Linked DNA regions of Homo sapiens: all the other regions are linked to region 2. The links are contacts of gene promoters, found by promoter capture Hi-C in human tissues and cell types (Jung and others, 2019). All regions are on one chromosome and are shown on one strand. The core of a region is centred on a gene start or on the middle of the fragment in contact, and the rest is flanking DNA. Distances in the headings are between cores, read along the strand shown. Region 1 has its middle 8.2 kb from the start of CD14. Region 2 holds the start of ANKHD1 (ankyrin repeat and KH domain containing 1). Region 3 overlaps SLC35A4 (solute carrier family 35 member A4).

Region 1 (5,075 bases), core at 602-3,101, 220 kb before region 2:
CTTGGGAAATAAAGACAGTTTTAAAGATTATTGGTAAAATAAAAATGTCTTCAAAATTTATACATTTGGTCTAAATTAGGCAGGTCAGACACTGAGTTTACTAAACTACATAAACTGCTTCCTTGATATGATCATTGTTCAACTTACCTGCTTTGGAACCATTAGATTCTAGGTAATGCCTAGAGACATGTGGAGTTAGCCATGCCCTCTAGCTATGCTGGAAAGATCAGACCTTATCTGCACTTCTGTCTGGTGTCCTAGGCTCCACACCTGGTACATAATTAAAATTGCTTACTTACCAGGTTTTTCACCAAAAAAAAAAAAAAGTTGCTGAGACGTAACATTGTAACATATGCAATTGAGACTAGTAGAGAAACAGTTTTACATGGAAAGTGCGTAAGGAAAGTGAATGTGTTTTTGGCAAAAGATTATAAGAAGGCACAGGAATGTGGATTTTTTTTTTGCCTAGTTTAGGGGGTTAAAGTATTATTTTAAGTTGGATAGGGAAAAGTAGAAGCTTTGAGCAAGTTGTGGCAGGTTTATGAAATATAAATTCTGTCTGTGGACATACTGGCTAAAGTTAAAGGGGTATTCAATTTTTCCATAAATTGAACATTGGAATAAAAGCACAATAGAGTTTTCTTAGAGCACTGATCTGCTCTTTAACAGTAAAATATAGGCTGGGCACTTTGGCTCATGCCTGTAATCCTAGCACTTTGGGAGGCCAAGGCAGGAGGATTGCCTGAGGTCAGGAGTTCAAGACCAGCCTGGGCAACATGGCAAAACCCCATCTCTACTAAACATACAAAAAATTAGCATGACATGGTGGCATGGTGGCAGAGGTGCAGCAAGCCAAGATCACAGAGTGAGACTCTGTTTCAAAAATAAAAATAAAAAAAGAAATGATAATAGATAGAGACACAAAGATTTGTGGCTGCTTAGAAGTGGGGTGGTCAAGGGGAATGACCTCTAATGGGATACAATGCCTGTAATCCCAGACACTTGGGAGGCTGAGCCAGGAGAATCACTTGAACCCAGGAGGCAGAAGTTACAGTAAGCTGAAAGCATGCCACTGCACTCCAGCCAGGGTGACAAAGTGAGATTCTGTCTTAAAAAATAAAGAAAAAATATATAAAGGGTAATAAAAGGTTTATGAGACTCTTACCTTATGGTCAAACTGATTAAAATTGGATATCTTTTTCTATAAGGTTTTATTAAGAATTGGGTTTGACATTAATAGTACACCATTGCATTCCAGCCTGGGTGATAGAGCAAGACTCCATCTCAAAAAAAAAAGAAGACTGGGCATAGGTTGCTTAGAGCCACTCACAGGTGGACAGTCCAGTAGGCAGTTAGCCATAGGGGCTAGAGCTTAGGGGACAGGTTTGGCCTGGCTATAAGAATTTGGGAGCCATCAGTGTAGAAATGCCTGTGGAAACCGTAGCCATGAATAGCCATGAGTAAGTTCACCCAGGCCAGGAGGGGAGAAAGAAGAGACCGTGCTAAAGAAGGAAACTGGGAATCATCAGTCAACATTTCAGGATGGAGAAAGCAGGGTCTTCAAAGGAGACAGAGAAATAGGAAGAGAACTTAGAACTTGAGACAGAGAACATAGGGAGACATGGTCAGCAACTCCCTATGCCTCCTCTACTGTCATCTCCACCTTGTAAACCAACATCACCCCCAACATATTCTAGCCATTCTTTCCTTTGCCTCTTGTTCTTCCCTCTGCCTGGAATGTTCTGGTCATTAATTTATTCATCCATTTAACAATTATTTATTGAGCTCCCACTACCTGACAAGCACTTTGGAAGTGCTGAGGACAAAGCACTTATAGTGAGCAAAGCGACAAAAGTTCCTGCTCTTAAAGTGTTCATATTGCAGTGGGGAGAAGAAAGTATAAAGTGCTAGATGATGGTAAGTGCTGTGGGGAAAATAGAGCTGAGCCAAAACAGTCAGGATTGCTGGGCATAAGGGTGAAGGATTGCAAGTTTATAGTTGTTAGAATAGACCTCACATGAGGTGACTTCTGAGCAAAGATTTAAGGGAGGTGAGAGAGTGAGCCTTGTAGTTATCTGCTGGAAGAGCAGTCCAGGAAGAGGAAACATCCAGTACAAAGGCCCTGGAAGACATTGGCAATGATATCAGAGAGATAGCAAGTGGCCTCAATTGTTGTTTAAGGCTCACAGGCCACTGTGAAGCTTGGTTTTCACTCAGGTGAAATAGAGAGCCACCTGAGGATACTGACAAAGGGTAACATAAACTGGTTTCCATTTTTAAAGGATCACATTAGCTGCTGTGTTGAAAGTAAACTATAGAGAGTAAGTTAGAAGACTCGTTGGGAATTTATACCAATAACCCAGTCAAGAAATGATGGAGGCCGGGTGCAGTGACTCACGCCTGTAATCCTGGCACTTTGGGAGGCCAAGGCGGATGTATTATGAGGTCAGGAGTTTGAGATCAGCCTGGCCAAGACGGTGAAACCCCGTTTCTACTAAAAATACGAAAATTAGCCAGGCGCGGTGCCAAGCGCCTGTAATCCCAGCTACTCAGGAGGCTGAGGCAGAAGAATCACTTGTACCTGGGAGGCAGAGGTTGCAGTGAGCCAAGATCATGCCACTGTACTCTAGCCTGGGCACAGAGCAGGACTCCATCTCAAAAAAAAAAAAAAAAGAAAGAAAGAAAGAAAGAAATGATGGTGAGGTTGGGTGCAGTGACTCATGCCTGTAATACCAGCATTTTGAGAGGCCAAAGTGGGTGGATCACTTGAGGTCAGGAGTTCGAGACCAGCCTGGCCAATATGGCAAAACCCTGTCTCTACTGAAAATACAAAAAAAAATTAGCCCCAGCTACTCGGGAGGCTGAGGTGCAAGAATCACTTGAACCTGGGAGGCAGAGGTGCAGCGAGCCAAGATCACAGAGTGAGACTCCGTTTCAAAAATAAAAATAAAAAAAGAAATGATGATAGATAGAGACACAAAGATTTGTGGTTGCTTAGAAGTGGGGTGGTCAAGGGGAATGACCTCTAATGGGATACAGAATTTCTTTTTGGGGTGATAAAAATGTTCTAAAATTAAAGCGCGGTTATAGTTACACAACTCTGGTAATATAATAAACACCACTAAATTGAATACTTTATTTATTTATTTATTTATTCATTTATTTTGAGATGGAGTCTCACTCTGTTACCCAGGCTGGAGTGCAAAGGTGTGATCTCGGCTCCTGCAACCTCCGCCTCCCAGGTTCAAGTGATTCTCCTGCTTCAGCCTCCTGAGTAGCTGGGATTACAGGCAGGCACCACCAGGCCTGGCTAATTTTTGTATTTTTAGTAGAGACGGGGTTTCACCATTTTGGTCAGGCTGGTCTCAAACTCCTGACCTCGTGATCTGCCCACCTCAGCCTCCCACAGTGCTGGGATTACAGGCATGAGTCACCACGCCAAGCCTAAATTAAATACTTTAAAAGGGTGAATTTTATTTGTTGTGAATCACAACTCAATATAAAGCTGTTTAAGAAAACCCACACAAAAACATGGTGACAGTTGGATCAGGATAGTAGAAGTGGGGGGAAATGGTCAAATTATGCGCATTTTTTGAAGACAGAGCTCACAGGATTTTTACATATAAAGGGTGGAACATGAGAAAGGGATGGCTGGGCAAGGTGGCTCATGCCTATAATCCCAGCACTTTGGGAGGCCAAGGCAGGAGGATCACTTGAGGTCAGGAGTTTGAGACTAGCCTGGGCAACATACTGAGACCCTCCATCTCTATTTTTTTAAAATGTTTTAAGTATAAAAATTCAACTAAATTTTTAAAAAAGAGAAAAAAGGTGGGCTCAGGGATGACTCTATGGTTTGAGGCCTAAGTTATAAGACTTGATGAAATCACTAAAGATGTGAGCATAGATACATTTCGCCCTGTGGCTTAAACTTAATTATTTGTCTTAAAACATGTTATTTTGTAACTTGAACTGTTGCGGGATTTTTAAGGAATCAGAGAGACCGATGGGGTTCAGGATGATATTTATTAATTATTTAGGTGCACTGGCCCAGTCAGATTAACATCCAAAGGACTGAGCCCTGAACAAAGAGTTAAGTTACCTTTTAAGCATTTTGTGGGGTGGGGGAGATCTGTACAGGGGGAAGCATGCTACAGAAGTGAGAAACAAAGACAGTTATTTAATTAATTGAGACATGCATTACATCATTTCTTACTTTTCAAGGAAAAACATGTTTTGCAACTTGAGTTTATCTGTCTAGTGACTTTGCAGCTGCACAGCTAGGGAAACAGGGTCTTCACAATGCCTGGGAAAGGAGGAGAGATAAGGCTCACTAGCCATAGAAAAATAGGCAGTTAGTTTTTAAAGGACTCCAGCTCTTTCTCTTTCTCAAGGGGAACTGGGTTTTCTTACATACAACTTAGTTTCTGCTTACACACTCCTTAATTTCTTTTAATTCCTGTTCCAGAACATCTGTGTTATACCTTGAGAATTCAAAGCAGAAAGCAAAATCAAAGCCAGACATGGTGGCTCATGCTTGTTATCCCAGCACTTTGAGAGACCAAGCTGGGAGAATCACTTGAACCCAGGGGTTCGAGACCAGCCTGGGCAACACAGCAAGACCCAGTCTCTATTAAAAAATAAAATATAAATACATAAAAAGAAAGTAAAATCATACAGAAAGCCAGAAATTTCTTCAGTCCCTCTAGTCAGATGCTTGCTTGTAGTTTTTGGTGTCCAAAAACGTTTCCCCATGCATTGCTCAGAAGCCTTTTTCTCTTTTTTCTTTCTTTTTTTTTTTTTTTTTTGTAGCTAAAGCCCTGGCAGTAAGGAGAACCCAGCTGGTGTACAAGCTTCTAGCACATTTCTTATTTTCGTTGTTCCCTTCCACCGCTTTCTGTAACATTCTTCACACAGTCTTTCCATGTATCTGGAATAACAGTTCTGAATTTCTTTTCACTGTTCTTGTATAACATCCTTTTGCAGATGGCTCTCTTAGCAGCAGAAGCAACAGCAGCTTGAAAACATCAACACTACAGCCAGTGACAGTCTACTTCCAGCCCCTAACACCTCCACTC
Region 2 (4,657 bases), core at 753-3,252:
AGAGAAATTCCTGTACTTTAACACCAAGACCAGAGGTTAAAATAACTGGTCACAGGTGACAACTCAGGCACCTCAGAACCAAAATAGAAGAAATACTCTGAGCACTTAAAACAATCACGGTACAGTACTCTACGCAAGCCACAGTCAACAGAAAAAAGTATACACATAAAATACCGCCCCTTGGGATCACAAGGTCAGGAGATCGAGACCATCCTGGACATGGTGAAACCCTGTCTTTACTAAAAAATACAAAATATTAGCCGGGAGTGGTGGCACGCGCCTGTAGTCCCAGCTACTCAGGAGGCTAAGGCAGGGGAATCGCTTGAACCCAGGAGGCGGAGGTTGCAGTGTGCCGAGATCGCGCCACTGCACTCCAGCCTGGCGACAGAGCGAAACTCCATCTCAAAAAACAAAAACAAAACCCGCCCCTTTTTCCCCAGAACCCAAAAGAAGTTAATGCCTACCATCCCAGGTTGCTCAGACCTAAAAATGTGTACACATTAGAGTACACACAGAAGAGTTAAAGAAATGAAGGACTTCACTGCAAAGGCAGAGTGAAGGTGTCCAGCCGGGCACGGTGGCTCATACCTGTAATCCCAGCACTTTGGGAGGCCGAGGCGGGCGGATCACCTGAGGTCAGGAGTTCGAGACCAGCCTGACCAACATGGTGAAACCCCGTATCTAATAAAAATACAAAATTAGTCGGGCGTGGTGGCGCACGCCTGTAATCCCAGCTACTCGGGAGGCTGAGGCAGGAGAATCGCTTGAACCCGGGAGGCGGAGGTTGCAGTGAGCTGAGATCACGTGTATTCTAGCGTGGACAACAAGAGCGAAACTCCATCTCAAAAAAAAAAAAAAAAAAAAAAAAAAGAAGAGGTTTCCACAGGTTGCCCCACTTTCTCCAAGCCTAAAACCTCCGAGTTCAGCTACCCAGCTATTCCGAAGCTCAGGGATGCCCTGGAACTTCCTTTTCCTGTCTAACTTCACAAAAGGTCCCAGAAGGAGGAGTCACGTGATTTTTCAGGGTAAAAGCCGAGAGATCCCTAATACTCAAACCTGTCTCAAACTGAAGAGGGAGAATAAGAACCGTCCTTAAGCACACAGGTAAGACACACACAAGGCAGAAGGCAAATAAACGTATCCCTCAACTCTGAGGAGAGGCAAAGAAGAGAAACGATCTTTGCACCAGCTCTGTCTCTGTCTCTGTTTGTCTCTCTCAGTACCAAGGGCAGGGACTCTGGCAAGACCCCGCCCCCCACCCCCAACTCCAAAGCAGGGTGGGCGGGAGGCAGCCTGAGGAGTCCCTGTTCCCGCGCGAAGCTCAGAGACCAAAGGACTCCCTATTGTGGGTCTACGAATGGTGACGGGAACCTGTCCCGCTCGAGCTAAAGAGTAAGCCGAGGGCTCACTAGGCCCTCACCGCGGCCACCGCCGCCATGGAGCCGACCGCTGTCACAGAAGGGCTCCACCAGGGAAGCGGGAGGATGGCCCCGGCCCAGAGCCTACCCAAAGAGAATTCACGCCTCACAATGTGTGGGAGGCGAGGGTCCCGGAGCCTTACCTCGGACACTTCGTCCTCGTCACTGCCAGAGGCACCACCTCCACCCCCGGTCCTCAGCACGGCAGCCGCCAACTTGAAATCCAGCGCCGCGTCCCCTCCGCCCGTACCGCTGCCGCTGCCGCCGCCGCCGCTGCTGCCGACTCCCGACGCTGGCCCGGCCTCCCCAAAGAGCCTCACGGTGCGGATCCCCAGACCGACCCCTCCCGGCGGAGGCGGCTCCGAGGCCCCAGCTGGGGCGGATCGCGGAGCCACAGAGTCCAGGTCCTCCTCAAAGGAGGTGCCGCCGCCTCCGCTATCAGTCAGCATTGTTCGCACCCGGAGCCGGAGACGGTGCCGACCCACTCGCGGTCACCGCCGCCGCTGATCTCGGGAACGAGAAGAGCAGCAAGAGGAAGAAGCGTCTCCTTTCCCCCGTCCCAGCAGCGCCACTAACTTCTCACTGCCTAACCTGCTGCCTCCCGCCCCCTCGACTCGCCACTGGCTGCAATACCCTGGCGGCTGCAGATCATTGGCCAAAGTGACCCGTCGCTCAGGCTCTTCGTCACGCGCCGCTCGCTGGCTCGCAGCCGCCAAGCTGCGTTGACCCGCGCAGGCCTAGGCGGTTGCGAACACCCGCCTCCCACTCTTCACCAGCTGACTTCCGCTCTTTTCCTATGTCTATTGGCCAACCCGCCTGACTATCGCGTCACGACCTTAAAGTGGATTAGTTGGCCTTGTGGTCAGTCATAGTGACCCCGAACAATGGGAGAATTCATTGGCGCCATAAAGTGTCGGTCACTTTGTCGCGGGACGTCGCGTGGTACAATTGGCCTGTGGGAGTACCATTGATCCCGCCCTCATCTGAGGTGACGGGAAAGGGCCGGGAAATTTCCACTTCTGAATAAAATGACTGCTGAAGTGATGACCCGCAAGAATTGGTCAAATTTGGAGTAGACTTCACCCTGCGCTTGGTGAAACTTCTACGTCAAGGATGCAAGAGGCGCCGAAGTAACGCAGCTCCCACCTGTCGCTCTCCGCTGGGCGCCGAGACTATGGCCGGAGAATAGCTGCACCGGGATTGGAGAAAGGAAGCCATCAGTCTTAGGAAGGCTCCACCTTCCTGCCATTGCCTGGTTGGAGGAGCGTAGCGTCAGTCACTAGAGCAGTCACCACCTCTGGGACAGGTGAAGATGTGTAACCTATTTGCCGGGGGCTATTTGGGAGGGAATAGAGGACGGGGAGCGATGAGGGGACAGTCGAGGGGCAAGGCCGATCTCGCTTCGCGCCTCCCGCCTTTCTGAGTTGAGCCTAGCGCGCGGGTCTGAGGGACATCCGGGGAGCTGCTTGGGATGGCCGCCTTGGGGAGACTCGACCCGCCCGCCAGGACCCGGCCGCGCGCCGCAGTTCGGGCGCCTTCGGGCAGGATCGCCCAGCGGGGCCGCGTTCTCCTGCTTGCGGACGGCTGCGGGCCTGAGGGCTGGACAGCGCCATGCCTCAGTACCGGGAACTGTCCCACGTAGGAAGGTGGGAATGCCGCGAACGGCGTGCGGAATCCGACCTCAAGGTGGAACGGGGTGGTGAAGAGTGCATGCTCCGAGGCAGTTTCGAGTTCTGGTGCTGCCACTTACTTGCTGCCTGACTTCGGCGCGTTTGCTGTTTCATTTTTGTGACTTTCAACTCGCTCCTCTGTGAAATGGGAGTAATATTAGTACCTTCCTCATTGGGTTGTTGTTATGAATAAATTAGATGATAATATAGCGCTTAGCAAAGTCCCAAACTTACAGGAAAGACTCATTTTTGCTAGTTATTGTCTCCTCTTCCTTCAGGAACTCTCTGCTCGCCCCTGGGTCCTGCCAGCCCAACTAATTCTAGTTCTAATCAGATCTGTGTGGTGCAAAACAAGGCTAGCTGTGGTGGTCTTCCCTCCTCTAAGGAGATCTCTTCCTCCCTATATGCATCTCTCTATCTCTGTCTTTATCTTGTCAGTAAAGAGGGGGGTTAAAAATATTCAGATTCTATAGCGGGCGCCGTGGCTCACGCCTGTAATCCCAACACTATGGGATGTTGAGGCGGGCGGATCATTTGAACCCAGTAGTTCGAGCCCAGCCTAGGCAACATGGTGAAATCCCGTCTTTACCAAAAATACAAAAATTGGGCTCGGCGCGGTGACTCACGCCTGTTAATCCCAGCACTTTGGGAGGCCTAGGTGGGCGGATCATTTGAGGTTAGGAGTTCTAGACCAGCCTGGCCAACATGGCGAAACCCCGTCTATACTAAAAATACAAAAATTAGCCAGATGTGATGGTGCGTGCCTGTAATCCCAGCTACTCGGGAGGCTGAGGCAGGAGAATCACTTGAACCCAGGAGGCGAAGTTTGCAGTGAGCCAAGATCGTGCCACTGCACTCCAGGTTAGGCGACAGAGCAACACATCGTCTCAAAAAAAAAAAAAAAATTAGCCGAGCATGGTGGTGCATGCCTGTAATTCCAGCTACTCAGGAGGCTGAGGTGGGAGGGATCCCCTGAGCCTGGGAGATGGAGGTTGCAGTGAGCCGAGATCGTGCCACTGAACTCCAGCCTGAGCAACAGAGCGGTGCCCTGTCTAAAAAAATTAAAAAAATAAAAAAAAAACGGTTTCTATCTAATCCTTTAATCAGACATGACCAAAAAAGGAGTCTGGTGGTTTGTATGGAAAATATCCTTTGACCCAGAGAATGTCCATATGATAACAGAATTTGGCTGAAAAAAAAAAAAATGGCCGGGCGCAGTGGCTCACACCTGTAATCCCAGCACCTTGGGAGGCAGAGGTGAGCGGATCACGAGGTCAGGAGATGGAGACCATCCTGGCCAACATGGTGAAACCCCGTCTCTACTAAAAATACAAAAATTAGCCAAGTGTGGCGGCGCGTGCCTGTAATCCCAGCTACTCGGGTGGCTGAGGCAAGAGAATCGCTTGAACCCAGGAGGCGGAGGTTGCAGTGAGCCGAGATCGCACCACTGCACTGCAGCCTGGCGACAGAGCAAGACTCAGTCTCAAAAAAAAAAAAAAAAAGTCATTTTCTCCTCTCTTACAACTTTAACAAAGGCCTTTATATATCTCAACTGTGCAATATTTAATA
Region 3 (5,001 bases), core at 1,053-3,552, 170 kb before region 2:
AAAGAAAAGATGTGAGAGGGCTGGGCGCAGTGGCTCACGCCTGTAATCCCAACACTTGGGGAGGCTGAGATGGGCAGATCACCTGAGGCCAGGAGTTCGAGACCAGCCTGGCCAACATGGTGAAACCCCGTCCCTACTAAAAAATACAAAAATTAGCCAGGCATGGTGGCGCATGTCTGTAGTCCCAGCTACTCAGGAGGCTGAGGTGGGAGAGTCACTTGAACCCAGGAGGCGCAGGTTGAAGTGAGCTGAGATTGCACCACTGCACTCCAGCCTGGGTGACACAGCGAGACTCTGTCATAAAAAAGAAAAAGAAAAATAAAAGATGTGAGACCTGTGAGCCTGGGGTCACAGGCATAATCAGGAGCAGCAGAAGTATAATCACACTCAAGTCCTTAGACTCCTAATCTAGTGCTCTTTCATCTCCTTAGGCTGCATGGCCTTTCTGGTCTTCCATGATTTATCACAGGGTGGTTGAAACCCTGTCCCTGTCCAGCCTCTCCTGGCCTTTCTCTTCTTTTTTCATAGTTGCTTAGAACTTGTTTTTACAGCCTTGGGGCTTGGGAATCAGGCATGGTAGCTCCTATTTATTGAGCAAGTGCCTTACTGCCCAGTGCTTTCGGTGCAGTACTTCATTTCATTCTCTCCACAACTTTTATCAGCTCGATTTGATAGAGAAGCACATGGAGACTAGGCCAGTCACCTGCTCGAGGTCATTCAGCTAAGAAGAGGAGGGGCTGGGACCCTGATCTGTCTGATTTCCAAGCCCTGATCTTAACCTACACTGTACTGGGAGGAAAGGTGTGGAACGATCACTTCTAATATCTTCTCAGCAGGTGATAGAGTCACCAGTAAACCAGAGCCCATGCCTCGAGGGAGAGCCCCAAGGTGGGTCTGGGACTTGGGGATGAGCTGGGAGTGGGACGTCTTCCCTGCCTTTGGTGTGATTAATTACATTTTCCTCTAGTGGCAGGAAGAATGGCAACTCTAAGGCGTGGCTCCACCAAAAGAATCCTCTCAGGCACCCTAAGGAATAGGTAATACCTCATGTACCCCAGGAACGACTAGAAGCTGTAGGGGGAGTGAAGAGCTGCAGAGCCCAGCTAATGTGCCCCTGCTTACCCTGCCCCAATATCAGGGAGAAATATGAAGTTTTTGACAAATAAAGGACCTGAAGGTGACTAGACCCCTAAGGCAAGGCCATGGGGAGGGACTGTTTTCCTACTTATTGGATTAAGGGTATAGGATCCTTAGAGGCACTATGGCACCTCCTGGCAGAGCCACTACCTTCCTCTCCCCACCATGGCCTCCTGAGTCTCTGCCCAGGCTACAAGCTCTTCCAGGCTAGTTAGGTCCTGGATGTTGTTCTGGGAGCAGCCCTGGTGATGAGGTTCTATTGGAAAAGTTGGGCTCTGGTCCTAAATCCGTGCACACACATGAACTTCTGACCAAGCCCAGCAGATACCAGATGTGGCCCGGCCGCTCTTCTTGGCCCAGGCCCAGAGGCAGAGACTGAGGGAGCAGCACCAAATTTGGATTCGAGAGAAGCTGAAGCATTTGGAACAGAAGGAGGAGGTGGCAGATGACCAGGTCAAAGGCCTGGTGGCTGAAGAGGAGGTAAGGAGGGTCAAATAGGGGACTTGAGGCTCTAATTGGTCCAGGCACTGTGCTAGGGGCTAGGATCCATCATCAATCACAACCGACCAGTTCATACCCTCTCTCATGGCCCTCACAGCCTTGTCAGGGATAGATGAGGCAATTCTCAGTGCTAAGTGATGGGATGGGGGATCTAGGGTTGTGTGGGACCAAAAAGGCATATCTGACCCAGGCTGGAGTGGATCAGAGGAGATGGAATCTAAGTTGAGCCTCAAAGGACAGGCAGAGATCAGCCAGGGGAATTCACTGGACACTGAGCTTAACAAGGGCAGTTACTGCTCATCAGTAACTGATGGGGGGTGGGTGGAGTGGGGACATGTTCTTAGAGAAGACAAAACAGTATAAGCAAAAGTTCAGAGGGAAGCAATGGCAAAGTGGGTCTGGGAACTGCAAATTCTCCAGTCTGGCTGGAGCTGAACAGGTGCGTAGTCAGAAGCAAGGCTAAAGAGACAAGTGTGTGCCACAGCTCTGGCTTTGGACTTTACCCCAAGGAGAGCTGCAAACCATTGAAAGGCATGTGCCATGTCAGCTCTGACCTTTACTAGCCATGAGAATTTGGGCAAGTTAGGTCACTTCTTTGATCCACTGTTGCCAAATCTGTAAGATGGCAATGCCACATATGGTTGTTATTGGATAAAATAATACACCTGAAGTATTTAGCACAGAGCCTGGCACACAGGTGGCACTCCAAAGAGTATGTGTTATCACTGAAGGCCTGCGAGGAGAGGCAGAGATGGCAGCAGGAACAGATGGTGCTGAGATTCCAGCTGGAGGCCCTTCAGGAAGAGCGGAACACAGCAGAGCAGGACCTGGCAGCCCTCTATGACCTGCATGTGCAGGCCACCCGAGCTCAGACACACCATGTGCTGCCCATCAGTGGGGATGGAGGGTAGGCCTTGAGCTGGCTCCAAGGCTGGCTGAGTGACAGGCATCTCTGAATCTGGGCACAGGTATTCTGAGCCTGGCAGGGCCAGTGGGAGGAGGGGGCCATGACCACAGAGCATCATCACTGCAGCCTGCTGGCGGGCACCCTGGAAGAAACCATCAACCTGGCCACACAGAATCAGGAGCTCCAAGCTGAGAACCAGCAGCTTCAGCAGGGTGCAGACTAGGCTGGGGGTAGTCATGCTGGACCTGTCCTGGGGAGAAACCTTAACAGGAACCCTTTAGAGGAAGTTTCTTGTCTCCTCATTCTGGAGGGTCCTAGAAGGGAGAAAAAGGTGAGACAAAACCAAGCTGATCCTTATTATGGATAATTAATAACACAAACCATGTCTCATTGTTCCAGTCCTTACTAAGTGCCTAATATTATTTTATTTAGCCTCTCCAGCTACCACATATAGTAGGTACCATTTGATCCTTATTTCAGGGATAAGGCAACTAAAGCTAGGAGAGGTTAAATAACTGCCCAAGAACAGTCAGCTAAGTGGAAGATCCAGAATTCAAATTCAAGTCTGTCCATAGTTCTACACTGCACAGTAGTGGCTTACAAGCTTCTGTGTGCATCAGAACCACCTAGGGAGCTTAAGAGAAAGAAGAAAAAGATTCCCAAACACTACTCCCTAAGATTCTGCTTTAATAGGTCTAAGATAGGCCTAGGGCCCCCCCCCAACCCCCTTGGTTTTTTTTAGAAACTCACCACATATTCTATCATAGAATCAGGGCCTGACATTCCCCTGGCCATGATTTTAAGACAGATGACAGGCAGAAATTGTAAGGGAACCAGAGGAAATGAAAACCGAAACCACATCGGCTTTCTTAAGAGTTTTTTGGCCTAGAGTCTAGTTTGTCCTGCTCGGCCCAGCACCTGCTGTTCCCAAGACTCTCTCCGCATTCCCCTGGGCCCAAGTTTTGTGCTCCAGGGAAATTTCAAAAGCTCTATGACAGGGAAATGTCTCAGTTCCATGGAACTCTCACAGGAAATAATGCCACTGGCAACAGCTTGGAGAAAACAATTTTTTCTTAGTCTAAAAGTTATCCCAGAATTAAGATACTCAGGACCCCAGAGGAACAAAATTGTTTGAGGGGAGTTGCGCAGACAGAAGACACAAGACAATCATGGCTGTGGTTGTAGGAACCACCCTACAGCCTAGAAGACTTTATTAAGATCTTATTGCTTATGCAGTTAAAGAGACACTGATTGAGCTACAGGTTTCCTGTACCTGGTCTCAGGTCACTCTGTGCAGAGCTTCCCCAGGCTGTTGGGAGCTGGGAGACTGCTAGGCAGGGGCAGGCCCCAGAGTGGGAAGCATGGTACCTCCTAGGAGCCTCAGAGTGGGTAGCGGGCTTCAAGACAGCCCTCAGGGTGAACAGAGAGGTCAGGAGTGTCGGCTTAAGCCAGGGCCCAGGGGCTACATTCCCTGAGATGAGTCAAGCCCAGCCCTCTCTGGGGTTTCCAGAACAAAGGCTAGGTGTGGGGAGCAGCACTGTGGAGAGGGCAGGGAGCATGTCTCTAGGCATTGCTGGAACTGGAGGAGACTGTCAGAGTGGTTTGGGTAATGGTTGTATAATCTGTGGCAACTGGGCCTTCTTGCATGAAAGTGGAAGGGTGAGGATCCCTTATGGAAGAGTCATGCACCATGGCTGGGCTGGACTAGCCAGCTCCAGTGGCTCTGCTGGGTGACTAAAGTAGGCAAGGAAAGCCACTTGTTGCCCACACCCCACTTTCATCAACTCTGTTCATGCAGGACAAAGCAGGGAGCTGCCCAACAAGGATGGGGTTATTTCTCAGGCCTAGGTATTGATGTTACCTTAATTCTTTAGTCTGGAAGAACTTGGTTGGGGGTGGGGGATGGTAAGCATTTCCTTAACCAAACCCACACTTCACATCTCCTAGGGGTACCCCTTCATCCACCAACCTCCAGAGAATAACCTGGCTGCCCTCACTTCTCCAGCTTTTCTCACAAGGCACTTGTTACAGGGCTGCTGATGGGAGAGGGAGGAAGGCCTGGGAGGGGGATCTGGTGGTGGCGCCCAATCTACAGGGTCCGGAATCAGGGTGGAAGTTGTCAGGGACTAGCGGCTGCCATAGTACAGGCGCATGGCCAGGCCAATGAGCAATGTGGCCAGGAAGAAGGCGGCTGTGAGCTGCAGCCGTAGCAGGACTGCTGAGAGCACGGCGTTGACCACCAGCGAGCAGGACACCACAAAGAGGCGTGTGATGCTGCTGCCATGCTTCATGACAGCAGACATGAGCAGTCCATTTAGTGCCTGGCTCAGCACCACGAGTGCTGCCCATCCTGAGAAACCTTCCAGGAGGCCTGGGCCAGAGCCGCCGCCAGCATGCAGACCTAGATTCAGAAGCACACCAAAAGTGTAGAGGAAGAGGTTCTGAAGTGCCAGGGG

Evidence for each region. Contacts are between HindIII fragments. The study calls those that stand out against the background at their distance.
Region 1: a fragment that was not itself captured here is called in contact with the fragment with the promoter of ANKHD1 in region 2 in 1 of the 25 tissues and cell types used here (hippocampus).
Region 3: a fragment that was not itself captured here is called in contact with the fragment with the promoter of ANKHD1 in region 2 in 1 of the 25 tissues and cell types used here (liver).

The regions. Positions count from the first base shown.
Region 1 is chr5:140,622,455-140,627,529 of GRCh38, reverse strand. It overlaps a transcript of TMCO6 not described here. Among named protein-coding and RNA genes, the nearest start is that of CD14, 8.2 kb to the left of the region's middle. The HindIII fragment of the contact is 3,350 bases long and covers 177-3,526 here.
Region 2 is chr5:140,399,178-140,403,834 of GRCh38, reverse strand. ANKHD1 (ankyrin repeat and KH domain containing 1) reads right to left here and starts at 2,002. Exons shown (of 34, transcript NM_017747.3): 1 at 1,562-2,002. The coding sequence starts at 1,867. ANKHD1-EIF4EBP3 (ANKHD1-EIF4EBP3 readthrough) reads right to left here and starts at 2,002. Exons shown (of 36, transcript NM_020690.6): 1 at 1,562-2,002. The coding sequence starts at 1,867. ANKHD1-DT (ANKHD1 divergent transcript) reads left to right here and starts at 2,434. Exons shown (of 2, transcript NR_186045.1): 1 at 2,434-2,724. RefSeq lists enhancers at 1,799-2,688, 2,879-2,928, 3,019-3,168, 3,259-3,408. The HindIII fragment of the contact is 13,843 bases long and covers 1-4,657 here.
Region 3 is chr5:140,567,815-140,572,815 of GRCh38, reverse strand. SLC35A4 (solute carrier family 35 member A4) reads right to left here. Exons shown (of 3, transcript NM_080670.4): 3 at 3,716-5,001. The coding sequence ends at 4,672. It overlaps LOC131768270 (SLC35A4 upstream open reading frame protein), which reads right to left. Exons shown (of 3, transcript NM_001394034.2): 3 at 3,716-5,001. Among named protein-coding and RNA genes, the nearest start is that of SLC35A4, 5.5 kb to the right of the region's middle. RefSeq lists enhancers at 2,081-2,580, 2,581-3,082, 3,114-3,513. The HindIII fragment of the contact is 5,475 bases long and covers 1-5,001 here.